6 separate regions of the Homo sapiens genome follow, and regions 2, 3, 4, 5 and 6 are each linked to region 1. Evidence: promoter capture Hi-C in 16 types of primary human blood cells and fetal thymus (Javierre and others, 2016). All regions are on one chromosome and are shown on one strand. The core of a region is centred on a gene start or on the middle of the fragment in contact, and the rest is flanking DNA. Distances in the headings are between cores, read along the strand shown. Region 1 holds the start of PKD1L1 (polycystin 1 like 1, transient receptor potential channel interacting). Region 2 overlaps TNS3 (tensin 3). Region 3 has its middle 270 kb from the start of SNORD151. Region 4 has its middle 230 kb from the start of SNORD151. Region 5 overlaps TNS3 (tensin 3). Region 6 overlaps TNS3 (tensin 3).

What was found. Contacts are between HindIII fragments. The CHiCAGO score rates a contact against its expected background, and 5 or more counts as called.
Region 2: a contact is called between a fragment that was not itself captured here and the fragment with the promoter of PKD1L1 in region 1, in 1 of 17 cell types (total B cells). The highest score is 6.4, in total B cells.
Region 3: a fragment that was not itself captured here is called in contact with the fragment with the promoter of PKD1L1 in region 1 in 2 of 17 cell types (naive B cells and total B cells); the score reaches 6.2 in naive B cells.
Region 4: a fragment that was not itself captured here is called in contact with the fragment with the promoter of PKD1L1 in region 1 in 2 of 17 cell types (total B cells and naive B cells); the score reaches 8.5 in total B cells.
Region 5: a fragment that was not itself captured here is called in contact with the fragment with the promoter of PKD1L1 in region 1 in 2 of 17 cell types (total B cells and naive B cells); the score reaches 12.2 in total B cells.
Region 6: a fragment that was not itself captured here is called in contact with the fragment with the promoter of PKD1L1 in region 1 in 2 of 17 cell types (naive B cells and total B cells); the score reaches 7.8 in naive B cells.

Annotation. Positions count from the first base shown.
Region 1 is chr7:47,947,088-47,950,821 of GRCh38, forward strand. PKD1L1 (polycystin 1 like 1, transient receptor potential channel interacting) reads right to left here and starts at 1,379. Exons shown (of 57, transcript NM_138295.5): 1 at 1,310-1,379. The coding sequence starts at 1,353. The HindIII fragment of the contact is 5,981 bases long and covers 1,274-3,734 here.
Region 2 is chr7:47,427,937-47,431,752 of GRCh38, forward strand. TNS3 (tensin 3) reads right to left here. Exons shown (of 31, transcript NM_022748.12): 9 at 376-440. Among named protein-coding and RNA genes, the nearest start is that of SNORD151, 35 kb to the right of the region's middle. The HindIII fragment of the contact is 8,256 bases long and covers 1-3,816 here.
Region 3 is chr7:47,195,278-47,199,158 of GRCh38, forward strand. No RefSeq gene overlaps it. Among named protein-coding and RNA genes, the nearest start is that of SNORD151, 270 kb to the right of the region's middle. The HindIII fragment of the contact is 198 bases long and covers 1,408-1,605 here.
Region 4 is chr7:47,232,376-47,236,538 of GRCh38, forward strand. No RefSeq gene overlaps it. Among named protein-coding and RNA genes, the nearest start is that of SNORD151, 230 kb to the right of the region's middle. The HindIII fragment of the contact is 1,358 bases long and covers 1,770-3,127 here.
Region 5 is chr7:47,280,693-47,284,355 of GRCh38, forward strand. It overlaps TNS3 (tensin 3), which reads right to left. Exons shown (of 31, transcript NM_022748.12): 28 at 3,005-3,173. Among named protein-coding and RNA genes, the nearest start is that of SNORD151, 180 kb to the right of the region's middle. The HindIII fragment of the contact is 9,538 bases long and covers 1-3,663 here.
Region 6 is chr7:47,316,936-47,320,911 of GRCh38, forward strand. All of the region lies in intron 20 of TNS3 (tensin 3), which reads right to left. Among named protein-coding and RNA genes, the nearest start is that of SNORD151, 150 kb to the right of the region's middle. The HindIII fragment of the contact is 192 bases long and covers 1,663-1,854 here.

The DNA of each region.
Region 1 (3,734 bases), core at 129-2,628:
AGGGAAAAAATTGTAGCCAAAATCAGACAATGCTTGGCAGCAGTGAGTGACATAAGGCAAAGAAATTTCCAAGCATGAATGTGACCAACCCCGTCAACACGTGCAGCCTCATTTTCTCATCCTGGTTTGCTTTGGGTTTCTTTGATAAAATGATGGTGATGGCACAAAGACAGTAAGCTAACAAAGGCAGAAATGCTGACAGCAAGCATTCATCAAGGATACTGATTTTTATAACGACCCTCTGGAGTTTACAGATGTGACAACAGGGGTACTCAGATTTTCAGGATGAGAAATCTGGGGGTGAGGAGGTAAAGTGACCTGCAGTGGCGGGGTACCCCACTGGGCAAGATCTGCAGGCACAGGCTCCCATCATGCCAGGCCAGGGGACAGCGGTGACCCACCTGGGTCCTTACCACATCCCACAGGCAGGTCACCTTGCTGGCCTCACGCCCAGGAAAGGGGGCATGGAGGTTTGCACCATGTCACACTGCCATGAGACAGTCAACAGCAGAGCACACAGGCTGCCCAGCCTCAACAACACATGGGTGCTGGCGCGCACAGAGCATGGGGAAGAGGGTTTAGAAATAAGACCCATGGAGGCTGGGTGCGGTGGCTTATGCCTGTAATCCCAGTACTTTGGGAGGCCAAGGCGGGCAGATCACAAGGTCAGGAGATCGAGACCATCCTGGCTAACACAGTGAAACCCCGTCTCTACTAAAAATACAAAAAATTAGTCGGGCGTGGTGGTGGGCGCCTGTGGTCCCAGCTACTTGGGAGGCTGAGGCAGGATAAATGGCATGAACCCAGGAGGCAGAGCTTGCAGTGAGCCAAGATCGCACCTCTGCACTCGAGCCTGGGCAACAGAGAGAGACTCCGTCTCAAAAAAAAAGAAATAAGACCCCTGGGCCAAGACCCCATGATCTCTTCCTGTGCCAGGTTTCTCCTGGTCTCCATGCAAGGGACCTAGCAGACAAGCAGATAGCTTAACTTTGTCTACTACCAGGCAGCAGAAAGTCCTCGAACTTGGAAGGTATCCTGCATTTGCAGGAAGAGCAATCAGCACTTCTCATGGCTGAAGGCATCCGCTTGGAGGAGTCTTCTCAAAAGCCTTCAGGAAAAAACTCCATTCTCAACACCAACTCCAACCTCTGAACTGACCCCGCCGGCCAAATGCACCCTCCTGGTACAGGGCCTCCACTCGTGCCAGAGTGAGCCCACATCCTAGAGGTGATGACTTTTGAAAGAAAATTTCTGAATGCATACTTTAAAATCAAGCTTACCAAACCCTCTGAGAACAGTGATAACTCACCTTTCCTGGTCATCAGAAATGTTCTGGGCTGCCTCCTCGGCCATGTCCTGTGCAAGCTGGTCACAAGTATGACAGTCAGCAGACCAGCTTCTTCCTACATCCTCTGGAAGACAAAGAAATAGAGCTTAATGCTTCCAGCTTCTGTACTTGTGACCTCTTATCAGGACACACATCAAACACAGAGGGAAAAATCCAAACTCCAGTAACATTTTCCCAAGCAGAAACAGCTTTTGTTTTCCTAACACTGTCAGACAAATTCCTTCCTAAGAAGTGTGCTTTTGACAGACGTGGTGGCTCATGTCTGTAATCCCAGCAATTTGGGAGGCCAAGGTGGGTGGATCACTTGAGGCCAGAAGTTTGAGACCAGCCTGGCCAATATGGTGAAACCCCGTCTCTACTAAAAATACAAAAATAGCCAAGTGTGGTGGCACACATCTGTAATCCCAGTTACCCAGGAGGCTCAGGCGAGAGAATTGCTTGAACCTAGGAGGTGGAGGTTGCAGTGAGACGAGATTGCACCACTGTGCAATAGAGTGAGACTCTGCCTCAAAAACAAAATGAAACAAAACAAAACAAAACAAAAGTGTGTTTTAGGTAGGGATCTTTGTGGCTGCCTGAAACAGATCACTACTCAAGGGAGAGACTGTACATGGAAGCTGAGAGAAGTCTGAGAATAAAAAGCTGTAACTGTTGGCTGGGCGCGGTGGCTCACGCCTATAATCCCAACACTTTGGGAGGTCGAGGTGGGCGGATCACGAGGTCAGGAGCTCGAGACCAGCCTGGCCAGCATAGTGAAACCCCGTCTCTACTAAAAATACAAAAATTAGCCAGGCATGGTGGCACGCACCTGTAGTCCCAGCTACTCGGGAGGCTGAGGCAGGAGAATTGCTCGAAACCGAGAGGCGGAGGTTGCAGTGAGCCGAGATCGTGCCACCACACTCCAGCCTGGGCAACAGAGCGAGGCTCTGTCTCAAAAAAAAAAAAAAAAAAAAAAAGCTGTAACTGTCCACAACTGCACTGGGGAACAGGATACCTTCCACAAGAGCAGAAGAGCATTCCTAAGGAAGGCTGGCAAGGCACACACTAGGCGCACTCTGTCTTACGGCAGAACCTAGGAATGATCTGGTTCCGAACCTCCTGCACCTCTCCTTGTTTGCAACTGGCGGGTCAGACTGAGTTCTCTCCATTACGAAACATTTTCTCTTATATTTTTAAAGCACTTGTTAGTTGTCTTAGTTCTTTATACCAACATTTAAACCTTCAGAGATTTTAGAAAACTTAATGTTTTACTCAGAACACTAGATATTTTTTCTCTCCACTCTGAAGAGAGTGATACCAAGAAGAGTGGGAACGTTTTCAGGCACAAGCTCTTTCTCAGATGGGAACACAGACCCCTTGAACAATGATGAACCAAGCTACGGGTGTCCGGCCTTGGATCCTGTGTTTTCTGGAACTTTGCTGCCAATGAGGTGAGTAACCAGAGCCCTGTGGTGGGTTAAGGGGCCTGCTGTTGACCTAACACACCTGTCTCCTGGGGCCTGCTGCCACCTCTGCTCTTCTCACACTGCCTTGTCAGTGCCTCTGGCTTTGTCCCCACTGTGCTTGTTGTGAGTAAATCTCAGATTTGGGGGAAATGCATACTTTCCAATTTCATTAGCAATACACTTTCAAATGCGCCTGTGACCAAGAAAAGGATAAACTGCAAACTGCAGTTTGTAAACGAACAAAATCCCTTCTTTCTGAAGCCCCTGTGATTTGCTCTGACACCTTCCTGTCAAATCTAAACAGAGTCCACTGGGTAAAGACACCTGTGCAACCCTGCCTGCTGGGCTGGCATCCATACCCACACGCACACCTGGATGCTCTGACCTTGCTGCTGCCTGTTCCTTCCTTGTGGGGCTGGACATCCTGAGAACAGGGCCTACATTTAAAGTTTGTGATGTTTTTGAAGCCAGCAGTGCTAACCAAAGATGCCAGGAAATGAGGAGGAGCAAAGAAAGTGACATAATTGAGGGAAGAAATATGCCTGCACTGCCCTACGTGGGAGGCACTCTCATAGCCACTCTCATAGCCACTCTCAGCTACTGGAGCTTAAGTTACTTACAATTAAATAGAATTAAGAATTAGCTGGAGAAACCCCGTCTCTACTAAAAATACAAAAAAATTAGCCAGGTGTGGTGATGCACGCCTGTAATCCCAGCTATCCAGGAGGCTGAGGCAGGAGAATCGCTTGAACCGGGGAGGCAGAGGTTGTGGTGAGCCAACTTCGTGCCATTGCACTCCAGCCTGGGCAATGAGCGAAACTCTTGTCTCAAAAAAAAAAAAAGAATTAGCTTTAGCTTCTCCATCATTAGCCATATTTCAAGGGCTCAGTAGCCAAGATACAAACTATACAATGTTTCCATCATTGCAGAACACCCTCGGG
Region 2 (3,816 bases), core at 924-3,423, 520 kb before region 1:
TACAAGGTATGAGCTGATTTAGTGAGACCACTCTGTTCTTTTCATAATGGTGACTTTTATCTCTGTTATTTTTTGTTAGAGAATTCTCTATTAAAGAACAAGGGACAGTGGGGTCACTTATTTTTTTAATGCCTCCATGGAAGTACTTAGAATCAATCACACAGTCACCCAACCTGGAAAATGCCACTTTCACAAGTGTAAACGCTTAACTGGAAACTGGGTTTCTAGGCACTGACCAACCCAGCACTGGGGAATGGGAAACACAGGTCAGCCGAGCCCTTGGTATCCAGAACAGCTCCCGCGCAGACAGCCTTCAGCCCCATGCAGGCCCAGCTTTTAGCACCTCAAGACAGCGAGCTGACATCTTCATCCTACCTGGCTGAGACGTTGGTGAAATGCATGTAGGATGATATGACCACTCCTATGCGTCCTTTCCCGCCCTGCAGGAGACAAAAGATCAGCTGATTTTCTCTGAAATCCCACAGCAGAGATGTAATTAGAACAGGAAAAGACTCACTAGTGGACAAAACAATAGAGAGCCTGCTTTGGTGGTAAGGCCAGCATTACCCACAGCCTTCCTGTCTGGGAAAGTCAGTACCCAGTGCAACTGGAGTCTCTGCAACAGGGAACCCGCACGCTGGGTGCAAACAGTAAGAGTGGGTGCTAACTGGAGCAGCTGTAGAAGCCCAGGAGGGCTGACCAACACAGCAGCTGCCTGTCATTTTACCCAATTAGGCTGGAAAAAACTGTGCCAGGAGCTGCAGCAATTAGCATGACTTAATTATCCAGGTCAGACAGAAGTGAACGCCTGCCTGCTCACGGGCTGACAATGATCAGGGCTGCAAACACAGCTCAGCATGATGGGACATAGATTCCAGCTTACTGGCAGCACTGCCGGCACCTGAGCTCCACATACACCGCCGCAGCCCACCCTCATTACACATAAAGGAACCACTGTCCCAGGCAGAAGTTCTGGAAAAGGACTCACTCAAACCATAACCACAGACACCAACAGCCCAGCCCACAGACCAGCAACACCAGCAGGAGAAGCAGAAACTATTGGACAGGCCACCTTCACCCAGGGCCACAGAGTGCCACCTTCTAGAACATACTCTTACAACCTACAACAGCAGATTGCAAACCACAGCCCAGGAGCTACTTCTGCCCATTACCTACTTTCCCACAACTTGTGAGCTAAGAGTTAGTTTTACATTTTCTAACTATTAAGAAAAAATTTTGAAAAGATAAGATTCCATGCCATGTGAAAATGTGTTGAAGTTCAGATTTCAGTGTCCAAACACAAAGTTTGACTAGAACATGGCCACTCCCATCTGTTTACCTACATCCAGGGCTGCTTTCACTCTCACTGCAGGGGTAGGTTTGAGTATTTGCAGCAAGACCACGGGGACTGAAAAGTGTAAAATACAATCTGGCTCTTTTTTTTTTGGAGACGGAGTCTCACGCTCTGTCCCCCAGGCTGGAGTGCAGTGGCACAATCTCGGCTCACTGTAAGCTCCGCCTCCCGGGTTCACGCCATTCTCCTGCCTCAGCCTCCCAAGTAGCTGGGACTACAGGCGCCCGCCACCATACCCAGCTAATTTTTTGTATTTTTAGTAGAGATGGGGTTTCACCATGTTAGCCAGGATGGTCTCGATCTCCTGACCTTGTGATCCACCAGCCTCGGCCTCCCAAAGTGCTGGGACTATGGGACTACAGGCGTGAGCCACCGCACCCGGCCTAATCTGGCTGTTTTTAAAAATATTTGCCAACCCCTGATCTGGAATCATATAAAGCCAAAAAGGCAGGGCCTCTAATATGTAGCTCCCTAACTTCTTGAGAAGAAACTACTGATCAAATTCAAGTCACAATTCTGATAAGCCCAGTCATACATGAAAGTCACCCAGGAGCATCCTTCTCTCTGTCAGTGAAAGTCAAGAGCATGCCTTATAGATACTCAATGCGGGCACTTGATACACTCTTTGCAGCTGAATCCTGGCACGTGCAATTATTAATGGTATGGCTACTAGTATACCTCTTGCATAAAACTATATTTGACAGCAATTCACCTACAAAGAAACAACACCTCAGCCAAAACAGGCACACATGGTGGTGACATTCACCCCATTATCAATCACTTTTGTGGCACTATTTATGGATGTATAAAGCAAGTATTTCTTTTCTTTTCTTTTCTTTTCTTTTTTTTTTTTTTGAGACAGAGTTTCGCTCTTGTTGCCCAGGCTGGAGTGCAATGGAACGATCTTGGCTCACGGCAACCTCCACCTCCCGAGTTCAAGCGATTATCCTGCCTCAGCCTCCCAAGTAGCTGGAATTACAGGCATGCATCACCATGCCCGGCTAATTTTTTGTATTTTTAATAGAGACGGGCTTGCTCCATGTTAGTCAGGCTGATCTCGAACTCCCGATGTCAGGTGATCCCCCCGCCTCGGCCTCCCAAAGTGCTGGGATTACAGGCATGAGCCACTGCACCCGGCCTATAAAGCAAATATTAAAAGATCTGAAGGGACAGATAGAAATACCACAACCGTACGGGACTTCAGTACCCCATTTTCAACAATGGACAGATCACCTAGACAGAAAACCAGTAAGAAAACAGGGTACTCAACCTGCACTTTAGACCAAATAGACCTTACAGACATATACAGAACATTGCATCAGAATACGCATTCTTCTGAAGTGCACACAGAAAGTTCTCCAGCATAGATGGCATGTTAGGCCACAAAACAAACCTTAACGAATTTAAGGAGACTGAAATCATATTCAGTATTTTTTCTTTTTTTTTTTTTAATGGAGTCTCCCTCTGTCATCCAGGTTAGAGTGCAGTGGCATGATCTCAGCTCACTACAACCTCCACCGCCTGGGTTCAAGCGATTCTCGTGCCTCAGCCTCCCGAGTAGCTGGGAATACAGGTGCATGCCACCACACCCAGCTAATTTTTTTGTATTTTTAGTAGAGACGGAGTTTTGCCATGTTGGCCAGGCTGGTCTCGAACTCCTGACCTCAGGTGATCTGCCCGCCTTGGCCTCCCAAAGTGCTGGGATCACAGGCATGAGCCACCGCGCCTGGCCTCAAGTATCATTTCTGACCATAGTGGTATGAAACTAGAAATCAATAACAGGAAGAATCTTGGAAAATTCACAAGTTTATGGAAATAAAACAACATACTCCTAAATAACTACTGGGTCAAAGAAAAAAAGTCAGAAGAGAGATTTAGAAATATCTTGGGAGAAACAAAAATTGAAACACAACACACCAAAACTTATGGGATGCAGCAAAAGCAGTTGTAAGAGGAAGGTTTATGGCAATAAATGCCTATGTTAAAAGACAAAAAACTCTCAAATAAAAAAACCTAATGTCAGGCAGGGCGCGGTGGCTCATGCCTGTAATCCCAGCGCTTTGGGAGGCCGAGGTGGGTGGATCACGAGGTCAGGAGATCAAGACCTTCCTGGCCAACATGGTGAAACCCCATCTCTATTAAAAATACAAAAATTAGCTGGGTGTGGTGGCACGTGCCTGTAATCCCAGCTACTAGGGAGGCTGAGGCAGGAGAATCACTTGAACCTGGGAGTTGGAGGTTGCAGTGAGCCGAGATCACGCCACTGCACTCCAGCCTGGTGACAGAGTGAGACTCCGTCTCAAAAAACAAAACAAAACACAAAACCTAATGTTGTACCTGAAGGAACAAAGAACAAACTAAACCCCAAATTAGCAAAGGAAGGAAAAAACAAAGGTCAGAGCAGAAACAAATAAAGGAGAGACTAGAAAAACAATAGAAAAGATCAACAAAACTAAGGGTTG
Region 3 (3,881 bases), core at 257-2,756, 750 kb before region 1:
ACAGAAAGATGTGGCCTTCGTCATCTGACACATGGAAAAAATTACATTTCCGTGAAGGTGGACAAAATAAGACGGAAATCTAAAACTTATTGGCACAGCGTGTAGGGTGTGTACGAGGGTTTGCTAGTCTCTCAGGATATATCAGTGTCCTTCCCCACACGTGCATTTCTTAAATCAAAATGATACTTTTCTTTCCACGGATTTAAAACATTATAGGTAGGGTGGTAAAGTGCTGTGCGGAACAGAGGTGAACTCACAGACCTTACGAAGTCACAAAATTGACTCTCAAGGCATGTTACATTCAGAGTGGCTGAGCAGCCTAGAAGACTGCACATTCCGGCTAAACCAGAGGGGCTATATCCCATTCCTATAAGCGTTACTGTCCACAAAAGCTAACATTAAATTTGTAGTTTCTTTTTACTCATGTGCGTAGAAAAGTGGGAGCTGTGTTGGCAGGTAGGTTCTCAAGTGTTGGATGAACAGACACAGCATGTTCCTGTAATCTTCATTTTGACCACTAGGGAAGCCTGGAAGCTTCCTGGGAAGGATGGGTCCAAGCAGATGCTCCATTATGTCTGAAGGATTTCAGGCACTCGGCTGAGCAGCCACAACGGCAGTGGCCGTGCCTTCCAAAGGCCTGGGACCGGTTCTGGGTTGGCACAGGCCCAAGGATTCCCAGACCCCAGGCCCCTTGCTGTCAGTGATGTCCAGGGGTCCTGACAGAAGAGCCCACTGAATGTCAACTGTAGGAATTAATTCCATAGACATGATTCAATTATCATCAATCATCTGTTTATTGTGTTTCTTCATTTGTTAATCTTTTTAAGTCCTGATTTAAAAAAAAAAAAACTGGTATTGTTAATAAGAAGAAACTCAAAAAACGGGTCCCAGTTTGTTTATACTTATTGATCTACACTGTCCGTGGGCACACCAACCACCGAGAAACTCCAGAATAGGTGAATTCCTGTTAATATTTCAACATGCCTCATAGGAATTTTATCACAGGAATGGACCTCAGGGAGTGTAGTCCCATTTTTGCTAAGGTCAAGGTGCCAGAGAATACTTGATTTCAAATCTCAGTCTTAGTAAGGTACTCATGCTTCAAGACACAGTTGAAATGTACCCTTCCATGCAGTCTGCCATGCTTACTAACTTGTGTTCAGAGCACTCAATCCCCCATGCCCAGAATCTGTGATCACTGGGTGTGCTGGGCACCTTAAAATAAGCTTTCATGATCTTCAGTAATTTCACTAGCAGATGACAGCCAAAAGCCTATGAGAGTTCAATGAGGCCCCTGAAATAAGTCTAATTCAAAATCAAAAGCTTTCCTGGAAGTTCTGTAAGCTGCATCACTTCAGTTTCTACACAGGCACAAACAGACAAACAGGAGGGAGAGGCAGCCTGCAAAGCTTTCTTTGCTTATTATACCACATGTCACTCATGTTAGACTTTGAACAACTATTTATAATAGATTTTAAAACACACCTGTATTACAGGGCCAGTTACACCATACTGTAATTTATTTTGCATGTCTAAGCCCCCTTTCAAAGAATCAGTGAAACTGTAACGGGGAGAAACTATGTCTGAGGCACATGTTCCTCCCCAAGCTTCAATCACAGAACTTGGCATAAAATAGACCTTCACAGCATAAATGATCTACTGCAATGGATGGCTAAAAATAGAGGTGGGGAGGGAATACAAGCACAATTTTTAGGAAATTAATTTTCAAAAAGTCACTGGAGTAGAGGAAGTCATTTACAATGTGTCACTCCACGTGAAAGCCCCTTGCATCCCCTTCTCTCTGTTCTCATTTTTTGTCCCTGCTCTCATTCACGTCTTCTCTTCCCTCCTGTCTTGGGGAGTTCAGGATCCTCATGTTCTAGGCTAGTCCCACTCACCTCTGCAGTTGATATTATTTCCTCCTACATCCCTTCGACAGTTATTTGACAAATCTCTTGGTGAGACCTTCTACAAAAATTGAGTGAGCTGGGTGGTATAATGGACTAAATTGTGTTCCCCCAAAATTCCTATGGTGAAGCCCTAACCCCTAATATAACTATATTTGGAGATAAGGTCTTTATGGAGGTAAATAAGGTTAAATGAGGTCCTAAGAGTGGGTCCCTAACCTGCTAGGACTGGTGGCCTTATAAGAATAGGAAGAGAGAAAAAGAGTAGGGTACTCTCTCCACCACCCCTGTATGCACAGAGAAGAGGCCATGTCAGGACACAGCAAGAAGGCAGCCGTCTACAAGCCAGGAAGTGAGCCCTCACCAGAAACCAACGATGGCACCTTTATCTTGTCATCTGAACTCCAGAACTGTGAAAAGATAAATTTCTGTTGCTTAAGCCACCCAGCCTATGATACTATGTTATGGCAGCCCAAGCCAACTAGGACAGATGGGGAGTGTGGGAAGTAAGTAAAGTGTTTGGAATACCTCCAGTGGGGGTAAAGAAAGAAATTATATATCCACTGAAGAGAAGGATTTCTTTGCAGTTCTTGAGGGCCCTGTTGGCTAGGATCACACACATCCTTCTGATTTCTCCCAAGTCTGTGACCACTTCCTTCTAGTGTCCTTAGCTAGCAACTCTCCTTCTGCTGTAAAATGTTAGGCTTCCCCTGTGGCCTTCCTGTCTCCCTTTACATAGGCTACACATGCTCCCTTAGTTGCCTTGTCACCTCCCTAGCATCAGCCACCACCACGTGTTAATGACCAACCTCCTGTGTCTTCTGTACAGCCTTCCTTCCCCAACTCCCAAATAGCATTTCCAACTCCTTACTAAGAGTCCCCCAGGTATTGAAAATTCAACATATCTAAAAGAAAACACATCATCTCTATCCCCTTAGACTGATCGTCCACTCAGCCCTCAGCACTTCCATGCTGCTGCTTGACCAGACAAAAAGCACTAGATCAATCCCTGGGCATCCCTGCCTTTGTTTATCATGTTTCTTTAACATCTTTGGTCCAGCCCAATTTACTCTTCTGACTGGATGATTGTGATACAGTCATCCTTTCTAGTCATATTCTTGGCTTCAATTCATTCCTCACATGACAGCTGCAATGCTCTTCTGATTACACTGCCCCACTGCTTAGTGCAGTTTAAGAGCCCAGGTTAAAGTCCAAACTGCCTGCCAGACCCTTCAGATCTGTCCCTGATTCATCTGCAGCCTCATCCCTCACCATTCCCCAGTGCTCACCTCCCAGTGTGTAGCATAAACTCACTTTGCTCATGGCTTCTCACATTCTACGCTTCTGCCTAACTGGCCCCCACCTTGACCCACTTTATATCGAACCAACCCATGTTGTCTTTCAAGAATCTCCTCCTAGGAAGTTTCTTCTAATTCCCTAGATGCTTAAGTCATTTTAGCTGTCTAAGGCCAGCTCACTATCAGTAGGATAGAGATAGTGTTTGACCCTATAGAGAGAGTAGTGTGCTGGCATGTTGTGGCTTATGTAGATAAACCCACAACTAAGTGCTCCTCCTAATGCCTGGTACCCACGTGCTCAATAAACGCTCACTGCTGATGTTTTTATTTTCATTTTTATTGTTACAATCATCTACTTTGTTCAACTTGGGCTGCAATGACAGAATACCGTGGACTAAGCATCTAAAATAACAGACATTTATTTTCTCACAGTTCTGGAGGCTGAAAGTCTTGATCAGAATGTCTGCAGCATGGTTGGGTTCTGGTGAAGGCCTTCTTCCTGACTTGCAAATGGTCACCTTCTCTCTGTGTCCTCACATGGCAGGGGGAAGGCGGAGAGGGAGAGAAAGAGAAAGAGAGATGAAGACAAAAAGTGAGTGAACTCTGGTCTCTCTTGTCTCTTCTTACAAAGACACTTAATCCTATCATGGGCCCACCCATCACCTCATCTAAATTC
Region 4 (4,163 bases), core at 1,199-3,698, 710 kb before region 1:
CCCCTAAAGCAGTGCTTCCAGAGTAATCGATTCCAGGGCAATTCCTTATTTCATAATAATGAATGAATGAACAGGACAAAGGAAGGGTGGTATTTAGGAGCAAGGAGAGGAGGCCATGGAGCCACCTATATTAGGAACTGTCACCATCCCTCACCTCAGGCAAAGAGGTAAATAAATGCTCAGAACAGACACCTAAAGGGCCCACAAATAAATGGCTGCAAGAAACTACTGAAATGTAGTTGCTTAGTATGATTTTTAGATTATACACAAAAATAAGCATTAGGATGTGAATTGTGTCCTCCCCATGGATGTTGTAGTCCTAACTCTAGTACCTGTAGACGTGACCTTATTTGGAAATGGGGTCTTTGCAGATGATCAAGTTCAAATGAGGACCTTAGGGTGGTCCTTAGCCCACCCTAAGGGGCCCTAATCCGATATGACCATGTCCTTATAAAAAGGAGAAATTTGGAAACAGACATAGAGGCAAGAAAAATGCCTTGTGAAGGTCAGAGTTATGCCACCACAAGCCAAGGAATGCCAAAGATTGCCAGCAAACCACAAAAGCTAGGGCGGAGACCCAGCACCGATTCTCCCTCACAGTCTCAGAAGGAATCAACAAGGCTGCCGTGTTGATTTCAGACTTCTATCGGCCAGAATCCTGAGAGAATACATTTCTGTTGCTTTGTTAAGGCAGTCCCAGCAAACTAACACAAGTATGTGTTGAAATTCTGAAATGCAATATATGATATAATATAAATTTAGAGCTTAATTAGTAAGTGTGGTGCCCACACCAGTGTCTCATGTTCATATACTATCTTCCCTTCGTGGGACACTACTGACATCTCCTGGTGCATGTCATCCCACTGAAAATGGTTTGAAAAACATCCATGCTCTTCCCACAGTAAACTCGGAAACGTGTCCATACAATACCCATAGAAGGCCTTCTTGTATTCTAGTGTACAGACTTGAAGTTTGAAACCAGAAAAACCTGGTTTTAATTTTGCCTTTGCCACATACTGTTTAGATAACTTTGGGCTGGGTCATACCCTATGCCTGTCTGCTCATCTGTAAAATGGGACTAATAACAACCACTCAACAGAACTCTTCTAAGAAACAATTAAATGATCTAAAGTATGTAAAGACTCTACACAGTAATGGAGACATTTGGAAAAGAGCTGCCACTCTTATGTGGCCTTCAGATTCTCTTGCTTTTTCTCAAATGTTTCTAGTTAGAACAGGGTTCAGCAAACCTTTTTTGTAAAGGATGAGAGCTTTGTGGACCATACAGTCTCTATAGGAACTATTTAATTCTGCCACTGAGGTGCAAAAGCAGCCACAGACAAGATGTAAGTGAATGGGCGTAACTGTGCCCCAGAAAACTTTATTTAACAAAATAGTGGATTGGATTGGGCCTGATGCTGATCCCTGAGTTAGAAGATGTATTAAATATGTTTGGCTATAAGGACTTTAAATTCAACTAGAAATATAGATTATGCATGTTTTACTGAGACTTAGCAAGACCTACGCTGATACTCTCGTGTGCTCATTTTCAAGTACTTTCAATGTGGAACAGGAAGCTGAGTAGATTTAAAACATCAATTGCAGAAATCAAAGAAATATTCAAAATACAACAAAGAATGCATCTTGATTTGAAAAGTAAAATAGGCTTACATGAGAAGTGAACAATTAAAAACATTCAAGTTCCCATTAACACAAATAATATTAGACCAGAAAATTCCCACCTTTCCATCTATCTGCCCTTGTAAGTAAGCTTCACATGGCTTCTGATCAGGTGATGTTGTGTTCAGCAAACTGAACCAGCCTTGCAAGTGAAAAGTATTTAAAGGAATCACAGCATGAACTCGTTCTGTGCCAAAGTAAGCCACAATTTAGATGGTGTTTGCTTTTGAACAGTCAATTTTTCTTTCCAGTTTTCTTTCTGTATTGGGTGCATTGATGTTTAGAATTCTTTGTTACTTGGAGTTTCTGACAATCAAAGTGTTGACTATTTTCACTAGTTTAAACATTTCATATATTTCTAATAAAGTAAAAAAGACTAATAAGGAAACACATTAGGAGGAAAGATTGTTGGGAATATTTTTGGACATTTGTACCCTGACAAATATAATGAGAATTATGTGATGGAATTGGAGGGTAAAAAGGAGAAGAAATGATGGATGTAGCTGCTATAGTCAACTGAAATGCAATCTTTTTTCCTCTAAGAACCACAGTGTGCAAAGGCAATGGGCTTTGAACTGTGCTACTTCTTAGTGCTTGGCTTGGTCCTCAGTTTCCTCCCCAATAGGTTGAAGAGAAGAAGACAATCTATCTCAAAAATATTCCAACTGCGTTCATCCTAATTGCCTCTTATCTAAGTAATAGTGAAAGCTGTTCAAGTTTCTATTGGCCTCTCAACTCTCCTGGCCCATTCTCATAGCCCTCCTCACTAGACTGTAAGTCCATGTGTTCGTTAGCTTCGGCTACTATAACAAAATAACACAGACTGAGCAGCTTGAGCAACAGAAATTTATTTTTCATACAGTTCTGGAGGCTGCAATCCAAGATTTGGGGGCCAGTGCAGTCAGGTTCTAGTGAGGGCTCTCTTTCTAAATGGCTGCCTTCATCCTTTGTCCTCACATGGCATTTCCTCTGTGCTAATGTGGAGGAAGAGAGATGGAAAGCTCTCTGGCATCTCTTTTTATAATATGAATCCTATCAGATCAGGGCCCCACCCTTAGGACCTCATTTAACCTGGATTACTTCCTTGGAAACCCCATATCCAAATACAGTTGATCCTTGAGCAAAACGGGTTTGAACAGTGTGAGTCCACTTACACATGGGTTTTCTTTCATCTCTTCTGCCCCTAAGACAGCAAGGCCAACTGCTCCTCTTCCTCTTCTTCCTCCTCCTCAGCCTACTCAATATGAAGATGATAGGGATGATGACTTTATAATGATCCAGTTCCATTTAATGAGTACTAAATATATTTTCTCTTCCTTATGCTTTTCATATAAGATTTTCTTTCCTCTAGCTAACTTCATTGTAAGAATACAGTATGTAATGCATTTAACCATACAAAAAGTGTCTTACTCAACTATGTTATCAGTAAGGCTTCTGGTCAACAGTAAGCTTTTAGTAGTTATGTTTTTGGGAGAGTTAAAAGTTATATGCAAATTTTCAACTGTGCAGTGGTTAGTACGCCTAACCCCCATGCTGTTTGAAGGTCAACTGTGCAGCCATGCTGGGGGTTAGGGCTTCAAGATATGAATTAGGGGTGTGCAGGGAGGGACACAAACATTCAGTTCCTAAGAGTCTATGAGGGTATAAATAGTGTCATCTTCTTTTGCTCACCATTTTGTCCCTAGTGCCTAGTAGAAAATACAGCACTAGATAATTAGTAAGCGCACTGACTAAATAAATACATAGGCAATAATTTTTTTAGATGACCTGTAGATTACACAATTTTGACATTTGTCTGATCTGTTAAAACTGACATGGGAAAAAACCTAAGATATATCTCCTATGTTCAAAACTACTCTGAATTTAAAGCATAGTCTTACTGGCAGACTTACAACTTCCTGTAATACCTCTATGTCCTGTTATGAGCTAAGACATTGTACAGTCTTCAGTGGGAGAAGGGATTTTTCTCTTATAAAAGGCTTAGTCAAATACGTCCTTTTGAGTTATGCTTAAGATACACATAGTTTGCTCCAACTGTGCCAGTATACATTATTCTACGAATAAAGTTTCCCAAATTTTTTTCATGAGGCAGAGAAATCTCGCACTTACCTATATTATTACAATTAGTACTGCAATGACTACTGATTACCAGAAGGCTGGGGGGTGGGCAGGCAGAATGCTCCAATGGCAGTAACCTTAAGGTAAAAAATATCCAAAAATTTGAACCACATTCATGAACAACAAACTGGGTAACTTTGTGTAAGACACTTCACCTCTCCACTTAGGTCCAATATTTTATAAATGCGTTATTTTGTTTATAATATTTGTATTGATGCATGAAATCATTGCACTTATTCTTCTGAGAAAGCTCCAAATAGTGACACAATGACACTGCAGAGAGCAAGGCCATCAAGATATGAGAAATTACTAAAAATCATGCCCTAAGATGGGTGATGATTGAACTGCAGTAATGAAACTCTATC
Region 5 (3,663 bases), core at 1,097-3,596, 670 kb before region 1:
CACCTGAGGTCAGGAGTTCAAGACCAGCCTGACCAACATGTGAAACCCCGTCTCTACTAAAAACACAAAAATTAGTCGGGTGTGGTGACATGTGCCTGTAATTCCAGCTACTTGGGAGGTGGAAACAGGAGAATTGCTTGAACCTGGGAGGCAGAGGTTGCAGTGGGCTGAGATCGCTCCACTGCACTCCAGCTTGGGCGACAGAGTGAGATTCCATCTCAAAAAAAAAAAAGCCCTAACAAACTGGAAAAGCTGGTAGGGTGTGAGATGGACACAAGGAAGCACCTCTGGCCCTGCCAGACACTGCTGGCTGCAGGATCGTGGGGAAACCACTAACAGCCTCCAGGCTCCGAGCCTTGGTTTCCTCACCTGTGAAAAGTGGATCATGTTACCAGCCCACCCCTTCCACAGGACAGATGCCCAAGTCAGATGCAGTCACAGGTCTGAGAGCACTGAGTGAACAATAAAGTGCTGTGCAAGGAATATTCCTTAAGGAAGGACTCCACATGGTCACTGATACGACCCCCATAGAGACCTCCTTCCAGGCTCACCTGACAGCCCTTAGTCACTGACATGACCACCTGGGGCATTCTCCTCCGGCTCACCTGCCCAGCCCTTCCTTCCAAGAGTGCTATCCACCCAGTCCACATGGTCCCCAGAGGATGCCCAACTCAACACTCTGCTGTGTCCAGGCTGGGCCAGTCTAGCTGGCTTTGGGGTCACCCCTCTCCTTCTGGGAATGACTCTGCACCGGCACAGAGTAAAGCTCATCTGGAGATGAAGAGAGAGGCCAGGAGATAGGCTAGGGCAGAGGCAGAGCCTGGGTGTGCTTCAATTCAAGGTGACCCTGCAGCCACCTGCAGCCCCTCTCAAACAGGTGCCTTTTAAGGCTGATTGTTGGTGAGAAGATCCCCCTTTTGTCTAGAATTAGCCAGTCTGAACTCAAACGCTATCTCTTACAGTATGAAAGATCTGAACTGATGTGGACATGACCCATCTCCAGGGAATATAAAGAATACAGGGAAACTAAAGAGACACAGAAAAAAGACAACTCTGACAAGGGCACATAGAACAGATCCTGTGAAGAAATAACATATCTTCCAAGGGCAGCAGGGAGGAGGGAACAGTCAACATTGTGAGGGTCCTTAAGGAGCCCAACCCTGACCCTGAGTCTACCATGTCGCCAAGCTATGCCTCCAGACCCTGAGTCCACCATGCAGCCTAGCCATGCCCCTGACCCTGACCCTGACCCTGAGTCCACTAGGCAGTCTAGCCATACTCCTGACTGTAAGCCTGAGTCCACCAAGCAGCCTGGCCATGCCCTGAGCCTGACCCTGAGCCCACCAGGTAGATGATCCATATCCCAAACCCTAAGTCCACCATGTAGCTCCGCTATGCCCCTGACACTGACTCTGAGTCCACCGTGCAGCTGAGCCACACCCAACGGGAACCCTGAGTGAGCCATGTAGCCGAGCCATGCCCCTGACCCTGTGTCCACCATGTAACTGAGCTATGCCTGACACTGACCCTGAGTCCACCATGCAGCTGAGCCATACCCAACTGGGACCCTGGGTGAGCCATGCAGCTGAGCCATGCCCCTGACCCTGAGTCTACCATGCAGATGAGCCATGCCCCGACCCTGAGTCTACCATAAAGCCAAGGCACAACCCTGACTCTGACCCTGAGTCCACCAAACAGCAAAGCTATGCCCCCTGAACCTGACCATGAGTCCACCATACAGCTGAGCTATGTCCCTGACCCTGAGTCCACCGTGAAACTGAGCCTTGCCTGTGACCCTGACCCTGAGAACACAGTGGGGCTGAGCCATGCCCCTGACCCTGAGAACATGGTGGGGTTGAGCCACAACCCTGACCCTGTCCCTGCGTGTGCCACACAGGGCACTTGCTGAGTGCCCTTTTCATTTGAGACACTAAACCTTGAAATAGGTATTTTGGTGCAGGATTGAAATACGAGAGCATCAAGCATTGGGACCCTGCCCAGGGTCATCTACTGGTCAGTGTCAGGGGCACTGAACGGGTCTGACCAGCAAAACCCACGTTCTGCTTTGTGCTCATTTTTTTCAGCAGATGAAGGGTGATGAGCTAAACCTGCCTAAACTCACTTATTCCTGAAGCTACAGAGGGGAAGATCCTGCCTTCAACCTCCCAGGTGGTTTGGGCAGATGAAGAAAATGTCTTGCTTCTAGGGACATGGGCACCACAGAGAGGCATGGGGGCCCTGCTCGGGGAGCATCCTGGGAAAGCAGCCAGGCTGGTCTGAGTGTCCCCTGCCGGCCTGTCTGCTGTGATGGCTGCTGCCATCATGCTGCTGCCACGGTTGATGCCAACGTGCCTCCTCAACCACACAATACAAAATAATTGCATCTGAAATGCTCTGTTCCTAGGCCACAGGCTGCACTCAGGGATGGCATTCTGGAGGGAGGGAGACAGGAACAGCCCTGTGGCTGCTCTGTTCCATGCTTATGCTGGGCATTCAGTAAAGATCCACATGGAGAACATCTGCTCCAGCATAACTGGCTCAGTAACAGCTCAGGCGTAAGTCATTTGAAATTGGCCAACGGAAATAGTACATATCAAGGTCATACGCTCACCTGAAAGGAAATGACCCTCTGTTAAAACAATAGGTTCCAAGATCATTGGACTCTGATCATAGTATCAGAGTGTTTTTAAGGAACTGAGTTAAAAGATTTTTTGCATTTGCAATTATGTGTGTATGTGTGTAATTTTAAAACGCCAAACGTCTTTTTTTATTTTATTTTACTGATTTCTAAGAAAAATAGCCTTGCAAACAAATGCTAAGAGTTCCTATGTGGTTCCCAGGACGTATTTAATGACAGAAAAATACCTAGACAGACCCTGGGTGACTCATGACCTCAAAGACGGCTAATGATTTACCTGGATGACTACTCACACTAGGGAAGAACAAGAGGAACGTGACAGCCCCGCCCCTGCTGGACGGCTCCTGCCTCCCTCTAGGCACTCACTTCCTCTGATTGTCTGTCAGGGTGATGCCCTGGGCTGACACCTTGAAGTGCACAACTGTGGACACAGGTGGAGGCTCCTGGACCAGGGTGATGCTCAGGGCCTTCTGGATCGCCTGGTGGCCGGTGAGGGACTCCATCTCCACAGAGTTCAAGTACCACACATTGCAGGCTGGAAGACACCAAGGGAGACACATGTTAGTTGCAACTATTGGGACAGGTGTGTCCTGTTAACACACAGGCAGTTGCTGATGTGCAGACTGGGTTTATGAACAACTTGCGCATGTGGCCTATGCTGGGTGCATGTAAGGCAGATGGCCTTTGCCCCTAATTCTGAAAACATGAACAGTGAGTGCTCCAAGGATGCACTTACTCCCATGTCAAGGCAGAGAATAAGCGAGTTACTAGAGCAAAGCAGACCCGCCTGGTGTGGCTTTGCCTTCCCACCAGCCAGAGGGAGCTTTCTATTCGCCCTGCAGCAGTATTAAACCCTCGTGTCCCAGGTGGAGCCCAAGGCACCTTCTCTGGTCTCAGGGTGGGTATGGACAACAGTCACATTAATATGAAACCCAACTACTGTTATAGGTAAGGAGCCCAGAGGCCCTTGAGAAACAACCATGAGGGAAGCATGTGTCCTCAAATCCTGGTTGCCAAGAGAAGGA
Region 6 (3,976 bases), core at 509-3,008, 630 kb before region 1:
CATTTTCATGGTTTCCGATGAGAATCAAAGTCCTACAGATACAAACAAACAAACAAAAATGATGAAAAACCCACAAATGGATAAATAAATACTTTCTTGGTGTTGAATCTTTTCTTTTTAAAATCCTGATGTCAACATAATACAAATAATATGAAATTTGTTCTACAGCTTAAGGTCAACTGATTTCAGCAAATATGAGAAATGCTCTCAAAAGGATAAATTGTTTCTGTCTTTTTAAAGGAAGCAAGGTTCTTATTCCCCCAGTGAAGCCAGAATTGCTCCAGCCAGGGCTGAAATGGGAATCCTGTCCACCAAAAGCCGGGTGACCCTTTTATGACATTCTCATCACAATTGGAATTATCCCCTTCAAAAGAGACCATGCCACAGTCTTCCTTTTAAGCAATAACACAAAAGGAAGTAGAAAATGTAGATGCAATAGTTCATTACAGTTGGAGCCCTATTTTCTCTTATTCTTTGAAGATGTCCCATTTATATTCAAGGTTTTGATCAGACTGGAAAGAAAACACATTTACCAGTTTAGTTGGTGTTGTGTAGAGAATTCTAATGTTGAAACAGTGAAAACAGCGTTTTTCTTCATAGTGAGTGTTTCCCAAGCAGTTTTTACACTTGGGATGCACTAAGTGAGGCCAGTTCCTCCAGGGACTCACATAGTCCCTTAGCAACCTACAAGGGATGAGAGTTGTAAAAAAATGTGCTTTGGTTTGAGTTCTCAAGAAAACAAATGACTTCCTTCCTTCTAGACTTTAAAGAAAGATGACACTGAAGTGGAGCTACTGAGGCTGCCTAGAGACCACATCAAGCCTGCAGACAGAGCCAACACACAGCTGAGAAGATCAGGGTCTAGGGAGTCACTGGAAATAAATGTGTGAGAGAGACAGAGAGAGAGACCCACCCGCTGAGTGGCCAAGGAGTCCTCATGAAGCCAAATCTGAGGCCACAGCCACCCACAGCTGCTCAGTGAGTTTCGTTATTTTTCTCAAATTGTGATAAGACATACATAACAAAATTTACCATCTTAGCCATTTTTAAGTGTACAGTGCTGTAGCATCAAGTACATTCACTTTTTCGTACACCAACTATCTCCAGAACTTTATAATCTTACAAAACTATAACTCTTTCCCCATTGAAATAATTTCCTATCCTCCACCCAAGTCCCCACCATCCCACTTTCTGTATGTATGAATTCAATGACTCTAGGGACCTCATGTAAGTGGAATCATACAGAATTTGTCTTCTTGTGACTGACTTACTTCACTGAACACAATGTCCCTGAAGTTCTTCCATGTTGTAGTGCGTGTCAGAACGTCCTTCCTTTTTAAGGCTGAGTAATATTCCACTGCATGCATAGATCACATTTTGTTTATCCATTCAGCTGTCCCTGGACACTCGATAGCTTTCACCCTTTGACTTTGCGAACAGTTACATTTTCTCCTCTCTTGTTCCTTTAGCCAGTTTGAGTTGGGACTGGTTACTTGCAACAGGAAACAGACTCAGTGACACAATGTCCTTGCCTCAAAGCTGCTTCCAGTCCAGTGGGAGTGCAAACAGACAGGAATGCACCAGCACAGGGCAGTCAGGCCAGGGTGAGGGTATGCAAAGCAGCACCAGAAAAGAAAAGAGCCATCTGACCCTCCTCAGGGAAGCTTTCCTTATGCTGAGCCAAAACAAAACAAAAACAAAAACCCACAAACAGAGGAAGTATTGCCCTTCACAAGCAGAGAGAGAACCTGCATAAGAGGCTTTGAGAGCCCTGGGCTGATTATCATGATGGAGAATGGAGGTTACCATAATGTATACACCACGTCCACACAGGAGTGGACAGCGGTCAGAGAAAGCTTCAGGCAGCTCAAGATGATACCGGCGAGGGTCTATGCCAATGAAGAGGCTGTACCTAAGATGCTTGGTTCCAAGTCTTTAGTCCGCAGAATAATTCCAGTCTCATAACTGGACTTGTCCACAGGACAGGAAGTCTTGATGTTTTCTGTTTTCAGGCAGAATTCCCAGAGAATCTGGCTTTCCTTTAGAAACGGCACATGGGACACAGATGACATGTGCTGAACTTTGCCACAGCCCTTCTAAGGAAAGGTCACTTTAGCCTGGTGGCTCAACAGCTGAAGTCCCGAGGAGTCCTGGTCCAGGATCATCATTTTGTCCTACAACCACTGTCTGAGTCCATGTGCACCGCTATATAGGAACAACCGAGGCTGGGCAATTTATTTTAAAAAGAGGTTTATTTGGCTCACGGTTCTGAAGGCTGTAGAAAAAGCATCTGCACCTGGTGAGGGCCTCAGGAAGCTTCCATTGATGTGCACTCTGCACACCCTCACCCTGGCCTAACCACCCCATGCCAGTGCATTCCTGTCTACCTCCACTCCCACTGGACTTGTGAAAGGAAGCTGGCATCACATGGTGAGAGGAAGGCGAGAGAGAGAGAGTGAGAGAGTGATAGAGAGAGAGACAGAGAGAGAGAGAGAGAGGAGGGGAGGTGCCAGGCTCTTTTTGACAATCAGTTCTCGTGTGAACTAACAGTGAGAACTCACTCGTTACCATGAGGACAGCACCAAGCCCTTCATGAAGTATCTGCCCCCATGGAGGGGACAAATATCCAAACTGTATCAATGACTGCACCATGGAAGTCTAAATCACATAAGGCCCAGGGGGAGAAACCTCCCCTGTAATCTCAGAAGTCTCTTACCATGACTTGAAAACCTTATTCTATGTGGCAGATTTCAATGGACCTGAATAGAATCAAAGACACCCTTAAAGGACCTGCCTGTCTAAGAACCCCTGTGGCACTCGGGGCATCTGCATCCCTTATGCCCACCAGCCCATGTGCCAGGGACCACAGGCAGCTAATGGGGGTTTCTCATGTAGTTTCAGAAACTGGAAGACTGCTGCTTTTGAGAGAATATCACTGGTCAGACTCTAACCAGGTCCCTAACCAGGCGTTGCCATCTTCACCCAGTATTTCTAAAGCGTCCTGTGAGCAATGAGGAATGCAACACTGGGAATCCTGTGTTAGGTAAGAATTCGAAACCTCAGCTTCACTTAAACCCTTCACTCAGTTAACAAAAAGATGTACTCTCATTGCAGTAAATATAAACAGAGACTCAGAATGCATTTTATCTTTGTTCAGAAAACATAAGTTATCTTTATAAATTATCACTATTTTACTAATAGTGACTATCTGCGCGGTGCTCAGTGGGCTTACTTGACCCTCAGAACAACTCTTAAAGGTGTGCACTCTCGTCCATCTATACCTGTGAGGAGGCCGAGGCTTCAGCACTTCCCCTCACCTGCACCTGGAGGGAAACACACGCACCACCCAGCTGGAGCAGGACTCAAACATGATTCTTGGGTTTCCCACCTCTAGCTCATTAGCACGAACCTCATTCCTTTTCCTTTTCACTCTGTCCACAGCTCTGTGAGTTAAGAGGAATCCTGGTATTCCACGAGTTGGGAGTATTAGTCAGCTTGGGCTGCTATAAAAAATACCACACAGTGACTGAACCAACAGAAATGTATCCCCTCCCAGTCTAGCAGCTGGAAGTCCAAGATCAAGGCATTGGCAGGGCTGGTTTCTCCCGAGGCTTCTCTCTGCGGTGCACAGATGGCCATCTTCTCCCTGTGTCCTCACATGGTCTTCCCTCTGTGTGTCTGTGTCCTGATCGCCCCCTTCTACAGGGACACAAGTCATGTTGGATGAGGGCTCACCCTAAGGGACCCACTTTCACCAGTCACCACTGTAAAGGCCCTTTCTCCAAACACTCACATCCTGGGGTTCGGGTTAAGGCATCATTCAACATAGGAATGTGCAGGGGGTGGAGGGAGTCACAATTCAGCCTAACACGAATTGTGTGTGGTTTGGGGAGATGCAGCCCCTCTATAAATGGCAGGAGAGTGACATAGGCCCTACTTCAGAGTTCTCAGGGAATCTGCCAAGTTAGGGCATGAA